Linked DNA regions of Homo sapiens: region 1 is linked to region 2. The links are contacts of gene promoters, found by promoter capture Hi-C in blood cells and fetal thymus (Javierre and others, 2016). All regions are on one chromosome and are shown on one strand. Each heading gives the region's core, a stretch centred on a gene start or on the middle of the fragment in contact. The rest is flanking DNA. Distances are from core to core; before and after follow the strand shown.

What was found. Contacts are between HindIII fragments. The CHiCAGO score rates a contact against its expected background, and 5 or more counts as called.
Region 1: a fragment that was not itself captured here is called in contact with the fragment with the promoter of SEMA6C in region 2 in 4 of 17 cell types (naive CD4 T cells, total CD4 T cells, total CD8 T cells and 1 more); the score reaches 6.0 in naive CD4 T cells.

Annotation. Positions count from the first base shown.
Region 1 is chr1:151,024,468-151,031,278 of GRCh38, forward strand. PRUNE1 (prune exopolyphosphatase 1) reads left to right here. Exons shown (of 8, transcript NM_021222.3): 4 at 144-328; 5 at 1,048-1,206; 6 at 2,766-2,860; 7 at 4,319-4,477. Among named protein-coding and RNA genes, the nearest start is that of BNIPL, 8.7 kb to the right of the region's middle. The HindIII fragment of the contact is 8,691 bases long and covers 552-6,811 here.
Region 2 is chr1:151,145,198-151,152,184 of GRCh38, forward strand. It overlaps SEMA6C (semaphorin 6C), which reads right to left and starts at 1,434. Exons shown (of 19, transcript NM_030913.6): 1 at 1,236-1,434. It also overlaps a transcript of LYSMD1 not described here. RefSeq lists silencers at 1,182-1,641, 1,852-1,911. The HindIII fragment of the contact is 2,380 bases long and covers 1,159-3,538 here.

The sequences.
Region 1 (6,811 bases), core at 3,647-6,146, 120 kb before region 2:
CTGGGCGACAAGAGTGAAACTCCGTCTCAAAAAAAAAAAGACATCTGCATTTTCCTTGATGTGTGGGGTAGAGGTTGGCTAGAAGCAGCTGGAGTGTCCGTACCTATCTTTCTTCCTCTTTTCCCATACCCTCCCCTCCACAGAAGTGACACAGCCCTAGAGGAGGCAGTAGCAGAGGTGCTAGACCATCGACCCATCGAGCCGAAACACTGCCCTCCCTGCCATGTTTCAGTTGAGCTGGTGGGGTCCTGTGCTACCCTGGTGACCGAGAGAATCCTGCAGGGGGCACCAGAGATCTTGGACAGGCAAACTGCAGCCCTTCTGCATGGTAAGGGTGGCTTTTGGATTGGGACCTCAGTAGTTCTATTCCTGTCCCTGAGAAGGGAGGGTGGAAAAGTCTAGACGCTTCCAGCCTAACCATATGCTCTCAGAGCCATTCAGCTCATACCAAAAGATAGGATTCTTTCAGGGGACAATTGAGCATGTGTTTAAAGGCCTGTGGGATACTTGTTGGAGAAAGTAGAAAGGAAGTGCAGGGCAACAGACCAAGAAGCTTCCTATTGGCATCATTTTATGATGGAAGGAGGATTAGCTAAAGAAGCAGGAAACAGATTCCAATACCAATTCCTCCAGGAAATAGGTGACCTTGAGCAAATCTCTTAACCTTTCTTGTTCTCATTTTTCCACTTGTAAAAAAAAAGAGAGAGAGAGTGAGTTGGACTAGACTGTCTTTTCCAACTTAGAAGATTCTTTGATGGGATTTGGCCTACTGAAGAGGTGTATCTCTGTCTGACTAGGCTGTAAAATCTCCAAGGTTTGAGATGCTCAGGCTTTCTTTCTACCTTTTCCCCATTTCCCTTCCTACATTTTAGTTTGGATTTGGGAGGTCTGAGGACACTGTCCATCCCAGTTTCTCATTTTGCTTTCAGAGATTTTGCTATACAAATCTCCTTGTGTGTGTCCATTTGGTGTGAAGGTTATATATGTTCTGGTGGTTGTGTGTGAAGGGTCACAGGATTCAAGTTCCACCATCTCCCTTCTCCACAGGAACCATCATCCTGGACTGTGTCAACATGGACCTTAAAATTGGAAAGGCAACCCCAAAGGACAGCAAATATGTGGAGAAACTAGAGGCCCTTTTCCCAGACCTACCCAAGAGAAATGATATATTTGATTCCCTACAAAAGGCAAAGTTTGATGTATCAGGTATGAAATGTTAGCTGACTTTTCTGCCTCCCAGATAAGAAAACAGAAAGGCAAGCCTTGTTCATTATATTATTTTTTTTTTTTTGAGACAGAGTCTTGCTCTGCCACCCAGGCTAGAGTGCAGTGGCACAATCTTGGCACACTGCAACCTCGACCTCCTGGGTTCAAGCGATTCTCCTGCCTCAGCCTCCCGAGTAGCTGGGATTACAGGCGCCCACCACCACGCCCAGCTAATTTTGGTATTTTTAGTAAAGATCGGGTTTCACCATGTTGACCAGGCTGGTCTTGAACTCTGAAGCTCAGGTGATCTGCCCGCCTGGGCCTCCCAAAGTGCTGGGATTACAGGCATGAGCCACCGCGCCTGGCCAATTATTTAAATTTTATACCAGAAAGAAATGAAGTACCATATTAGCCTAAGCATGAAATAATCAGTCATTTACTGGATTGTTCTATCCTGGCTCTTGGTTAGGATGAGGAGGAATGTATTAAGAGCCTCAGAAGGGCCAGACGCAGTGGCTCACGCCTGTAATCCCAACACTTTGGGAGGCCGAGGTGGGCAGATCACCTGAGGTCAGGAGTTCAAGACCAGCCTAGCTAACATGGTGAAACTCCGTTTCTACTAAAAATACGAAAAATTAGCTGAGCGTGGTGGTGTGTGCCTGTAATCCCATCTACTCAGGAGGCTGAGGCAGGAAAATCGCTTGAACCCGGGAAGTGGAGGTTGCAGTGAGCCGAGATTGCGCCATTGTACTCCAGCTTGGGCAACGACAGCGAAACTCCGTCTCAAAAAAAAACAAAAAGAGCCTCATAGGTTCCAGTCTATTCAGAGAATACAGGACATATATATAAAATATGCTGAGAGTATACTAAATTATCAGAGTGAAATCTATAGAATTGGTTAGGGAGGCAAAAGAAATATTTTGTGAGTAAACAAAAGATGAAGAGAACCCAAAAAAAACTGTATTCTTGTACTCAGCTACCACCTGTTGACATAAAAAGGAAGAAAGAAAGAAAGAACTCACATGTAAACAGTATAGGAAGAGGGAAAGATAAAAAGTAAAAGCCTCTGTTCTGGGTTTCATCCTTCTCTCCAAAGTTACTTGCTCTAAAGGTACCTATTGTCACCAGTTATTTAAGATGGCTTTTGATTATGTGATTACATTTTCTTTCTTTCTTTTTTTTTTTTTTTTTTGAGACAGAGTCCAGGTTCAAGTGATTCTCCTGCTTCAGCCTCCTGAGTAGCTGGGATTACAAGTGCCCGCCACCACACCCAGCTAATTCTTTGTATTTTTAGTAGAGACAGAGTTTCATCATGTTGACCAGGCTGGTCCCAAACTCCTGACCTCAGGTGATCCGCCCACCTCAGCCTCCCAAAGTGCTGGGATTACAGGCCTGAGTCACCGCGCCCGGCTATGATTACATTTTCAATTATCTCCCCCATTCATTGCCCCAAAGAGAGGCTGTTTTTCCTTCCTTGACCCATCTGGCTGTCCTTGCCTTCTTGGTCTTGGGACCCTGGCCTACCCTGTTTGACCCCTAGTCTCTCATCTGCTTTCTAGGACTGACCACTGAGCAGATGCTGAGAAAAGACCAGAAGACTATCTATAGACAAGGCGTCAAGGTGGCCATTAGTGCAATATATATGGATTTGGAGGTAAGAGCAAGTTGTGGCTGTGGGTGGGGAGAGAAAGCCTTTAGCTATGCATGTTATGCATGTGGCCTTGCACCTCATTCCTGGCTCACCTCCAAAATGTATCTTGTGTCTATCTTTGTCTCTACCTCCACTGTGACCACCAGAGTCCAGCATCTCTCACTGCACCGCTGTATTAGCCTCAGTACTGGTGTCCCTGCCTCTGCTTTTGCAGCCCTACAAACCATTCTCCCCGCAGCAGCCAGAGTGGTCTTTTTTAATTTTTTTTTTTTTTTTTTAAGGGAGTCATGCTTTGTTGCCAGGCTAGAGTACAGTGGTACCATCATGGCTCACTGCAGCCTCAACCTTCCAGGCTCAAGCAATCCTCCCACCTTAGCCTCTCGAGTAGCTGGGTCCACAGGTGCACACCACCACACCTAACTAGTGTGTGTGTGTGTGTGTGTGTGTGTGTGTGTGTGCGCGCGCGTGTATGTATGTGTCGATGGGGTCTCACTATGTTGCCCAGGCTGGTCTCAAACTCCTGGCCTCAAGCAGTTCTCCTTTTGGCCTCCGAAGTTCTGGGATTATAGGCGTGAGCCACTGTGCCCGGCCTCATTGTATTTTTAATAAAATCTAAAGGACTTACTGTGGTTTACAGCGCCATGCTTGATCTGGCCCTTGTCTTTTTCTCTGGCCTCATCTCATTCCAGCTCCACTCCTGTTCTACAGTACTGCAGCCACACTGGTTTCTTTTCTGTTCCTCAGAACCATTAAGCTCATTCCCAGCTGAGCTTTTTTCTTTGTAAAGCTGGCTCCTTCTTAACATTCAGGTACTCAGCTCAGATGTCTCTTGTTTTGGGAGGTTTTTCCTGACCACCCTAACTGAAGTACTATCTCCTATGCTCAAAAAACCTCTAGCAGTTATGTATGTATGTTTGTTTGTTTGTTTGTTTTGAGCCTGAGTCTTATTCTGTTGCCCAGGATGGAGTGGAATGGCATGATCTCAGCTCACTGCAACCTCTGCCTCCCGGGTTCAAGTAATTCTCCTGCCTCAGCCTCCCTAGTAGCTGGGATTACTGGTGCGTGCCGGCATGCCCAGCTAATTTTTTGTTTTGTTTTGTTTTGTTTTTGTTTTTTGAGACGGAGTTTCGCTCTTGTCCCCCAGGCTGGAGTGCAATGGCGCAATCTCAGCTCACTGCAACTTCCGCCTCCCTGGTTCAAGCGATTCTCCTGCCTCAGCCTCCTGAGTAGCTGGGATTACAGGCATATGCCCCCATGCCCGGCTAATTTTTGTATTTTTACCAGAGACAGGGTTTCACCATGTTGGCTAGGCTGGTCTCGAACTCCTGACCTCAAGTGATCACCTGCCTCGGCCTCCCAAAGTGCTAGGATTATAGGCGTAAGCGACCGTGCCCGGCCCAAGGATGTTTTATTGATGATGATGAGAAAGTCCTTCATCCCTCTCCGTTTCTTCCCTTTCAGGCCTTTCTGCAGAGGTCTAACCTCCTTGCAGATCTCCATGCTTTCTGCCAGGCTCACAGCTATGATGTCCTGGTTGCCATGACTATCTTTTTCAACACTCACAATGAGCCAGTGCGGCAGTTGGCTATTTTCTGTCCCCATGTGGCACTCCAAACAACGGTGAGTCTGTGTCCCTTCTCCAACCTAAGAGCCTTACAGAGTCTGCCTGTATGTACCTCTGTGCTCTACAGCTGTCCTATAAGGACCTCTCTTAGGTTCTTATATTAATGTACTTACATGAGGTCCCTTGACCTGTTTCTGGACCTGTTTCCTCCCCTTTCTGCTTTTTCCCATTCTCTCTCTATATGAATATCCTTTTTTTTTTTTTAATGAACATCCTTAATCATAGCATTGTTGAGAAAGGGGGAATTCCAAAGAGAACTAGAGATTCAATTCCTACTTTGAAAGAACGAAATCTAGTTAGAAGGAAATGTTATAAATCCGGAGTTAAAATTCCCTTCTTGAGCTAGGGACAGTGGCACGTGCCTGTAGTCCCAGCAACTCGGGAGGCTGATGCAGAAGGATTGCTTAAGCTGGAAAGTTTTTTTTTTTTTTTTTTTTTTGAGACAGTCTTGTGCTGTTGCCCAGGCTGGGGTGCAGTGGCACAATCTCGGCTCACTGCAAGCTCTGCCTCCTGGGTTAACGCCATTGTCCTGCCTCAGCCTCCCGAGTAGCTGGGACTACAGGCGCCCGCCACCACGCCCGGCTAATTTTTTGTATTTTTAGTAGAGACGGGGTTTCACCGTGTTAGCCAGGATAGTCTCGATCTCCTGACCTCGTGATCCGCCCGCCTTGGCCTCCCAAAGTGCTGGGATTACAGGCGTGAGCCACCGCGCCCAGCCGAGCTGGAAAGTTTGAGTCCAGCCTGGGCAAAGATAGCAAGACCTCATCTCTGTTGGGGAAAAAAAAAAACAAAAACTCTATTCTTGGTTTAATCATTAATTCCTCACCCCTGGAATTATGCTGTTGCCTTGAAAATTAGAAATACGAGAGACCTTTTCTGCTACTTACTATGCAGGGATTAATTATTCTGTATAGTGCAAACTCTGTAAAGAAGTGATCTAGATCCAGATTTGGCTATCTTTCCTACTTCCTCCCCCTTCTGTTCCTCTGCTGGTTACTGATTAGCCTAGGGAAGAATTTAAAAGTGGGCTTAAGGCTGGGTGCGGTGGCTCACACCTGTAATCCCAGCACTTTGGGAAGCTGAGGCGGGCAGATCACGAGAGCAAGAGATCAAGACCATCCTGGCCAACATGGTGAAACCCCATCTCTTTTAAAAATACGGAAATTAGCTGGGCGTGGTGGTGCGTGCCTATAGTCCCAGCTACTCAGGAGGCTGAGGCAGGAGAATCTCTTGAACCTCGGCAAGCAGAGGTTGCAGTGAGCCGAGATTGCGCCACTGTACTCCATCCTGCCAACAGAGCAAGACTCCGTCTCCAAAAAAAAAAAAAAAAAAGGTGGGCTTAAGGCAGTTCAGGGATTCTGAGGGTTGCCTAGGCTCTGTGAGGACTGCTAAAGACAGAATACAGCCAGATAATCCTTTGCTCTCATAGAAGGTATGTCTGTCCTTTCCCGCCCCCCTTTGCCTTTGCCTTCTCCCCAGGAAGCAAATCTGATTTCATTCAGTGTAAGGTAGTTCGTCATTATGAAAAGAACTGCAGTTTTGTCTGTTTGTTTGTTTTTTAAGATGGAGTCTCACTCTGTCGCCCAGGCTTGAGTACAGTGGTGTGATCTTGGCTCACTGCAACCGCCACCTCCCAGGTTCAGTCAGTTCTCCCACCTCAGCCTGTAGCTGGGACTACAGGCGCCTGCCACCATGCCTGACTAATTTTTGTATTTTTAGTAGAGATGGGGTTTCACCATGTTAGCCAGGCAGGTCTCGAACTCCTGACCTCAAGTGATCCACCTGCCTTGGCCTTCCGAAGTGCTGGAATTACAAGCCTGAGCCACTGCACCTGGCCAAGAACTGCAGTTTTTAAAGTCAGGTAGATGTGCTTTTCTGTTCTAGGTTTGCCTCTTACTCACTCTTTGAGCTAAGGCAAGTCAGTTGACTTCTGCATCTGGAAATGGCATAATAGTACCTACTGCTAATTCTGCTATGATCATTAAACGTAATATCATGTGTAAAGCACACTCCTGGAGCAGAGTAAGCACTTTGTAAATAGTGGCTCTTACTAATCCTGTCAGTAAGAAAAGGGTGCTTTGGCCATTAGAAGTACCTCTTCCACGTTCCTGAATCTTCTCCCCTCTGTGCTGCTCTTTTAAAGCTGTGTGGATTTCTAATGACTCTACCATTGTCTAGGTTGCCCCTATGCTTGGAAACAGGAGTCCTTCTCTCTCTGTTTTGTTTTTGTGTGTGTGTGTGTGTGTTTTTTTTTTTTTTTGAGATGTCTCACTCTGTTGACCAGGCTGGAGTGGTACAATGGCACTATCTCAGCTCACTGCAACCTCTGC
Region 2 (6,987 bases), core at 184-2,683:
GCTGGGAAGAGGAAACAGCCCTTCTCTCTCCTGGCCCCGAAGCCACCTCTGGGGAATGGCTGGGGTCACAGCCAGAGTCTAGGAGAGCTGTGGAAGGGATGGAGAAGGGGAGACTGGGCTGGGGACAATAGCAGGAAGCCTTTGGGCTGGTCGCCCGCCCCAGTCCACCTTCCTCAGAGGGAGCAGGGTCGCGCCAAGGAGCCTGTGGAACCGGAGCTTTCCTTTCTCCAAGCCATTTCCCCCACTCTTAGCTCTTAGCCCCACACTCAGCACCTACCCTCCTTCCCACCCAACCCCCAACCAGGACAATCCAGGTGTCTAAAGCCTCGAAAAGAGGTGGGCCTAGGGCCAGGGGCTCGACCTGTCTCCCCCTCACCGGATCCGGGGCTCCGAGGAGGGGCCGGTAGCAGAGTCTGGGCCGGGACCGGGTCCCAGAGCCACGTTAGCGAGAGGAGGGGCTGGAGGGGCCTGCAGGCGCAGACGAAGAGGGGATAGGAGCGGGGGTTGGGGAGCGGAGGCGGGTCTCCCAGGCCAGGGAAACAGGGCCAGAGGCTGAGAACCGACGAGGGCGGGCCTGAGGCCGGCGCTCAGTGGGGACCGTGGGCTCAGGAGGCAGTTGCCAGCTCGGATGTCCTCCTTGGGAGACCTCAGTCTAACAAAGCCCCGGGCCGAGCGGGCTGAAGGAAGGAGATAGGCGCTGGGACCGATGTTGCTCGAGGGCCCCATTCGCCGCCTCTTTGCACGAGCCAACCCTTCAGAGGGTGCTCAGATTCCGGCTTGCACAAGGACAGAGGAGCACCCGTGACACAAAGTCCGGAACGATGCGTCCCTCTTCCCATCCCTTCAGGGGCGTCAGGAGGGTCTAGTTCTCCGTGGGTCTCGGAGCCCTAGTTTCCTTGCTGGGAAAGCAAGGGGCCAGGTTTTCCACGCTCTCTACGGAGCGCGCCTCAAATAATCCCTTTTCGCGCTTCCCAGTCCAGCGGGATGCGACTCGACGAAAGCCCAATTGAACGAGGTGCCCAGACTCTGCTCTCACCAGTACAGTTACGGGGCTCGGCCACTGTCCCTCCTTCCTCCCTGCACCCCAATTTCGTTGACCCTCTCCGTCAGCCAGGCACACCGGGCGCCGACACCTCCCTGGTCCCCTAGCGCTTCAGAAGCTTGCCCCCCGCCGGCCGCGCCCTCCTGCTCCCTCCCCGCCTCCCCGCAGCCCCTTCCCTGCCCGGGGTACTTGCTCCAGGATTCGGGTCAGCGGGATCGAGATCGCCGCGGGCGGCCAGCGGCCACGCGCTGCGCTGAGTTCGCAATCCGTGGTTGTGCTCAGGCGAGATGCGATGAGCGTCCGAATTGGATGGTGCTTGAATTTGGGTTCCAGGGCGCTGTCGGGAGAGCCCTGGGTCCAAGTCCAGCCGCGGATCCGCGGAGGAAAACAATGCGACCGCCCGGGGCTCTGGGCTCGGCCCCAGTGGCCCCGCCCGCCTCCCAGCCGGGCCCACCTCCTGCCCGCCTTTGGGTCGCCGCGACTAATCCCGCCCTCGGAGGGCGGCTAGACACCGCCTTCTCGTCACCTCTCCGCCAATAGTGCTGCCCGGGGAGGGGCGCCAGGAGCACCGTCCACCCAGAGGGCCAGGCCGGGAGGCTGAACTGGAGACCAGAGACAGACGCGAGATGGAGAGACCCACGGACAGTCGCCGACACCGGGCAGAGGAAGAAATACATACAGAAGCAGAGACAGGCTGGCACAGGAGAGGCTCTGGGGAGAAATTTCCCAAGAGAGGAAGAGGAGCTGGGAGGAGAAACAGACAGGAAACCTGGGAGCCTCGCGGGGCTGGGCTGGGCTGTCAGAGCCTGCGCGATCCGTCCTCCCTTCCCCTCCTATACGGCTTGGGCGACCTTGCTCCCGAGGGCGCATCCCGCATCTCCCTGACTCTGCCCCCAACTCTCTGTTGCTCCTCTCTATGCGTTGTCCCTCTGTCTCCTTATTTCTCCCCGTAGGCCTCCTCTGGTTCGTCCTGACCCGGATAAGGAGGCCTAGCATGCGCGTGGGGGCTGGAGGCCTGGGAAAGGAAAGGAAGGTGTCAGCAGGAGGTTTCCCTTGTTTCCATGATCTCCTCCCCTCCCACCTCTACAAAGCAGCATGAGTTTGGGCCACTATGGCAAGAACTAGCTAGCAGTCAGGCTGTTGGGTAATGGAAGAGGGCAGGTGAGAGAGGCTGAAGCCAAAACAGATGTGGAAATCAAGACTAACTGACTCAGAGAAAGGCACAAAGAGTAGCAACGCTAAGACTTGATAAAGTAACCCACACAGCCTTCCTGCCCCACAGACATACGTCCCACCTTTCCTCAGAGGACCGTGACATCCCTCCAAACAGCAAAACTGCCCCTTCTCCCTCCCCACCCTTCATAAAGCCCCTGGGAATGTCAGTGAGGAGGAAGAATAAACTACTACAGACAGGATTGCTTGGTACCTTGGTATTGCCTGGTAGGATTCTTCTCTATGTGGGGCTGGGACAAAAGACATTCTCAAAATTCTCCAGGAAAGTGGGTGGCCTGGGAGACACTGGCATTCTCAGATAGTTTTATCTGACTGAACACTTCTACCCACATCTTGGACTCTGGACTAGAGGAAAGGAGGGGGAAGGGGTTTGCCACTTTAGGCCAGCCTTAACTGGACTGTGATCAGGGAGGGGAGTATCAACAACTAGGCTAAGCCCCACAGCGAGTACACAAGAGACCTAAACATACACACACATGTGCACACGCACATACAGAGAAAGAGAGAGACAGAGAGACAGATTTAAGGCCAGGTGAACCAGTAAGATGAACAGTAACTCAGTAAAGTCAGATCTAAAAAAAATAGAAGAAGATAAACAGGGACAATATCTACACAGAATTAACGGCCGAGGGATCTTGGGTCCAAGGCAATTCAACAAACTGTCAGACAGTTGGGGTTGTTTTAAAGGCTGGAAAGAAATTTTCAGAGAAAGACACCTCAAAATACAGAGGCACTGAGAGGTTAAAAGAAATCTCCTCAGCTCCTAGCACAGGGTTTAGGTACTCAGATACATGCTTATGGAATAGATTAGTGAGTGGGGATTAAGGTGTAATTCATTTAAAGTTTTAGGACCCAGCTCAAATCTCAGTTCAATCCAGTAAGTATTAAACACTTACTTGAGACACAATCTACTACACAATCCACTGTGGGTTGTGGTTCCAGACTTTAAGAAAATGATAATATATTTGAATTAAAATAAGATTTGCACATACTAAACTATTAAAAAGTCTAAACTATTAAAAAGACAGTACTAAATATTAAATATTTAATAGTACTAAACTATTAAAAAGACAACACCAAGTCTCAAAAGAAAAGCTACATTGAACATAAATTTCCAAATGTGCAAAGAAGACAATAAATATTCTCCGAAGACTGCACAGAAAGATGCTGGATACATTTTATCATGAAGGACAGGAAAACTTTGGTGGGAGTTGGCTTGGTGCAAAAGAAGAAAATGTTCCCGAGGGACACAGCTTCAGCAAAAGCTTTTACTTGGTTAGCAAGGAGCCTGCAGCATGGATAAAAAAAAGGTCCTGTGAGGCTGGTGTGTGGGAAAGGCACTAGTTAGGAGCAAGGGGAGGGAAAAGGGGAAGACAAATTACAGAAGGCCTGGAATGACTAGGTGAGCTGGTTAAAATCATCTGACAGGAGTAGGACGTCATTTTAAATTCTTGAAAAAGGGTGCAACTTGTATTTTTTTATTTTTTTAAGCAAGAAGACAGAGACCTACTAGCAAGTAAACAAGGTTTAAAGGTGAGGGGAGAGGGACAATCAGACAAGGGTGATGGGAACAGATTTAGAAAGAAATACATGAATCTGAGAGCTATTTTGAAGGACAAATCAAAATGACTCTCTTGGCTGGGCGAGGTGGCTCACCCCTGTAATCCCAGCACTTTGGGAGGCCGAAGTGGGCAGATCACCTGAGGTCAGGAGTTCTGAGACCAGCCTGGCCAACATGGAGAAACTCCAGCTCTGCTAAAAATACAAAAAAAAATTAGCCGGGTGTGGTGATGGGCACCTGCAATCCCAGCTACTCAGGAGGCTGAGGCAGGGGAATTGCTTGAACTCAGGTGACAGGAGATTGCAGTGAGCCAAGATCGTGCCACTGCACTCCAGCCTGGGTGACACAGAGGGAGACTCTTAAAAAAATAAAAATAAAAATAAAAAACCTCTCTTCCTACTCCCTTAGTGTTTTGAAGAAAATCACACAGTCCTGGCCGGGCGCAGTGACTCAGGCCTGTAATCCTAGCACTTTGGGAGGCTGAGGCGGGTGGATTGCCTGAGCTCAGGAGTTCGAGACCAGCCTGGGCAACAACAGTGAAACCCCGTCTCTACTAAAATAAAAAGAATTAGCCGGGCGTGGCGGTGTGCGCCTGTAGTCCCAACTACTGGGGAGGCTGAGGCAGGAGAATTGCTTGAACCCAGGAGGCGGAGCTTGCAGTGAGCCGAGATCGCACCACTGCACTCCAGCCTGGGCAACAGAGCGAGACTCCATCTCAAAAAAAGGAAATCACACAGTCCCACAGATTGGATTGGAAAAGCACTCTCTTCCAATCCCCAGGGAGATATTTCAAACTTCCTCCTTTTTTTGCAAGTTCCTTTCCTTACCATTTCCTTGTTCATCTCAGGAAAACCCTCATCCGTCTTCAGAGAAAACAGAGATAATAAAGTGAGAATTCCACCAACTTTTTGCTCCCTACAGATATACTTACCTGCATCATGTCTCTCTCATCCTAGTGAATGCCATCCGTATCACCTGTCGAAGGTTCACCTATGACTTTACTGTAAGTTGTATGCAGTCCCTGGTTGTCTATCTTGCTCAACACTGTATCCTTTCCTTGTAGCATAGTGCCTGCACACAGAAAGTATTAACTTAAAAAAAAAATAGAGGCAGAGTCTCATTGTGTTGCCCAGGCTGGTCTTGAACTCCTAGGCTCAAGTGATTCTCCTGCCTCGGCCTCTCGAACTGCTGGGATTACCGGCGTCAGCCACCATTCCCAGTCTTAACCTGTCCTTTTCTACTGATATTTTCCCCTTAGCATATACACATGCTCAAGTAATTCCCATGATTAAAAGGAAAACATTCCAAACTTTCTCTTGATCCTTGTCTGCACCCAGTCATCACTCGATTTCTCTTCCCTTCATAACTAAGCTTCTAGAGTTACCTATACTTGCTATATCCATTTTCATGATTCTCATTCTCAATCATTTTAGTTTTTGTCCCCATCAGTCCACTGAGATTGCTCTCATTAAGGCCACCAACGACCTCCTGGTCACATTCAATGAACAACTCTTCAGTCTTTATCCTTTTGCCCTCTCTGTGCCATTTGACCTGTTGACTCCCCCCTCCTTGAAATGCTTTCTTCTTTTGGCTCCTGAGGTCCCTCTTTCTCTTAACAAAGACTAGGGGCTTAATAAATATGTATTTTTAATGAATGGATAGTTTCACTTCTATTAATATGGCTTTTCTTTTCTTTTCTTTTCTTTTTTTTTTTTTTTTGAGACAGAGACTCACTCTGTCGCCCCAGGCTGGAGTGCAGTAGCATAATCTTGGCTCACTCACTGCAACCTCCACCTCCTGGGTTCAAGCGCTTCTCCATCTCAGCCTCCCGAGTAGCTGGGATTACAGGCGCCCACCACCACGCCCAGCTAATTTTTATATTTTTAGTAGAGACAGGGTTTCGCCATGTTGGCCAGGCTGGTCTCGAACTCCTGACCTCAAGCGATCTGCCCACCTCAGCCTCCAAAGTGTTGGGATTACAGGTGTGAGCCACCACACCCAGCCTAATATGACCTTTCTTAGCCTTCTCTGACCTCTCTAAATGCTGGTGTTCCCTATGGTCATGTCCTTAGCCACCTCTTTCTTCTCTACCCATTCTCATTGGTCAAGATAATCCGACAATGAGAACAGTTACAAAACCAACAGTTACAATAAACTGTTTTGTTTTGTTTTGTTTTGAGATGAGTCTCCCTCTGTCACCTAGGCTAGAGTGCAGTGGCTCACTCGGCTCACTGCAAGTTCCGCCTCCCGGGTTCACACCATTCTCCTGCCTCAGCCTCCAGAGTAGCTGGGACTACAGGCACCTGCCACCATGCCCAGCTAATTTTTTTTTTTTTTTTGTATTTTCAGTAGACACAGGGTTTCACCGTGTTAGCCAGGATGGTCTCGATCTTCTGACCTCATGATCCGCCCGCCTGGGCCTCCCAAAGTGCTGGGATTACAGGTGTGAGCCACTGCGCCCGGCCACAATAAACTGTTTATATGTTGCTTACCATAAAATCTAGGTGTTCAACTCAGGTCTTTCTCCTGAGTTCTAGACTCATGTATACAATTGCTTATTGGATACTTCCATTTGGATTTTTCATGTTTACCACTTAGTCTAAAGACAGGAAGTAGCCAGGCGCAGTGGCTCACACCTATAATCCCAGCACTTTGGGAGGCTAAGGTGGGCAGATCACCTAAGGTTGGGAGTTCAAGACCAGCCTGACCGACATAGAGAAACCCCGTCTCTACTAAAAATACAAAATTAGCCGGGCATGGTGGCGGGCGCCTGTAGTCCCAGCTACTCAGGAGGCTGAGGCAGGAGAATCACTTGAACCCGGGAGGTGGAGGTTGCCATGAGGCAAGATCGCGCCATTGCACTCTGGCCTGAGCAACAAGAGCGAAACTCCATCTTAAAAAAAAAAAAAAAAAGACAGGAAGCTTGTCTTTTATCTTTTTATCCCCAGCACTTAATTGTAATGCCTGGCATACAGTAAGTAGAGGAAGAAATAAATGCATCAAAGATTAAAAACAAACAAACATCCTATGGCTCAGAGGAAAAACAACAACAACAACAAAAAACAAAAACAAAAAAAAAACAAGCCAGGTATGGTGGCTCATTTCTGTAATCCCAGCATTTTGGGAGGCCAAGGCAGGCGAATCATGAGGT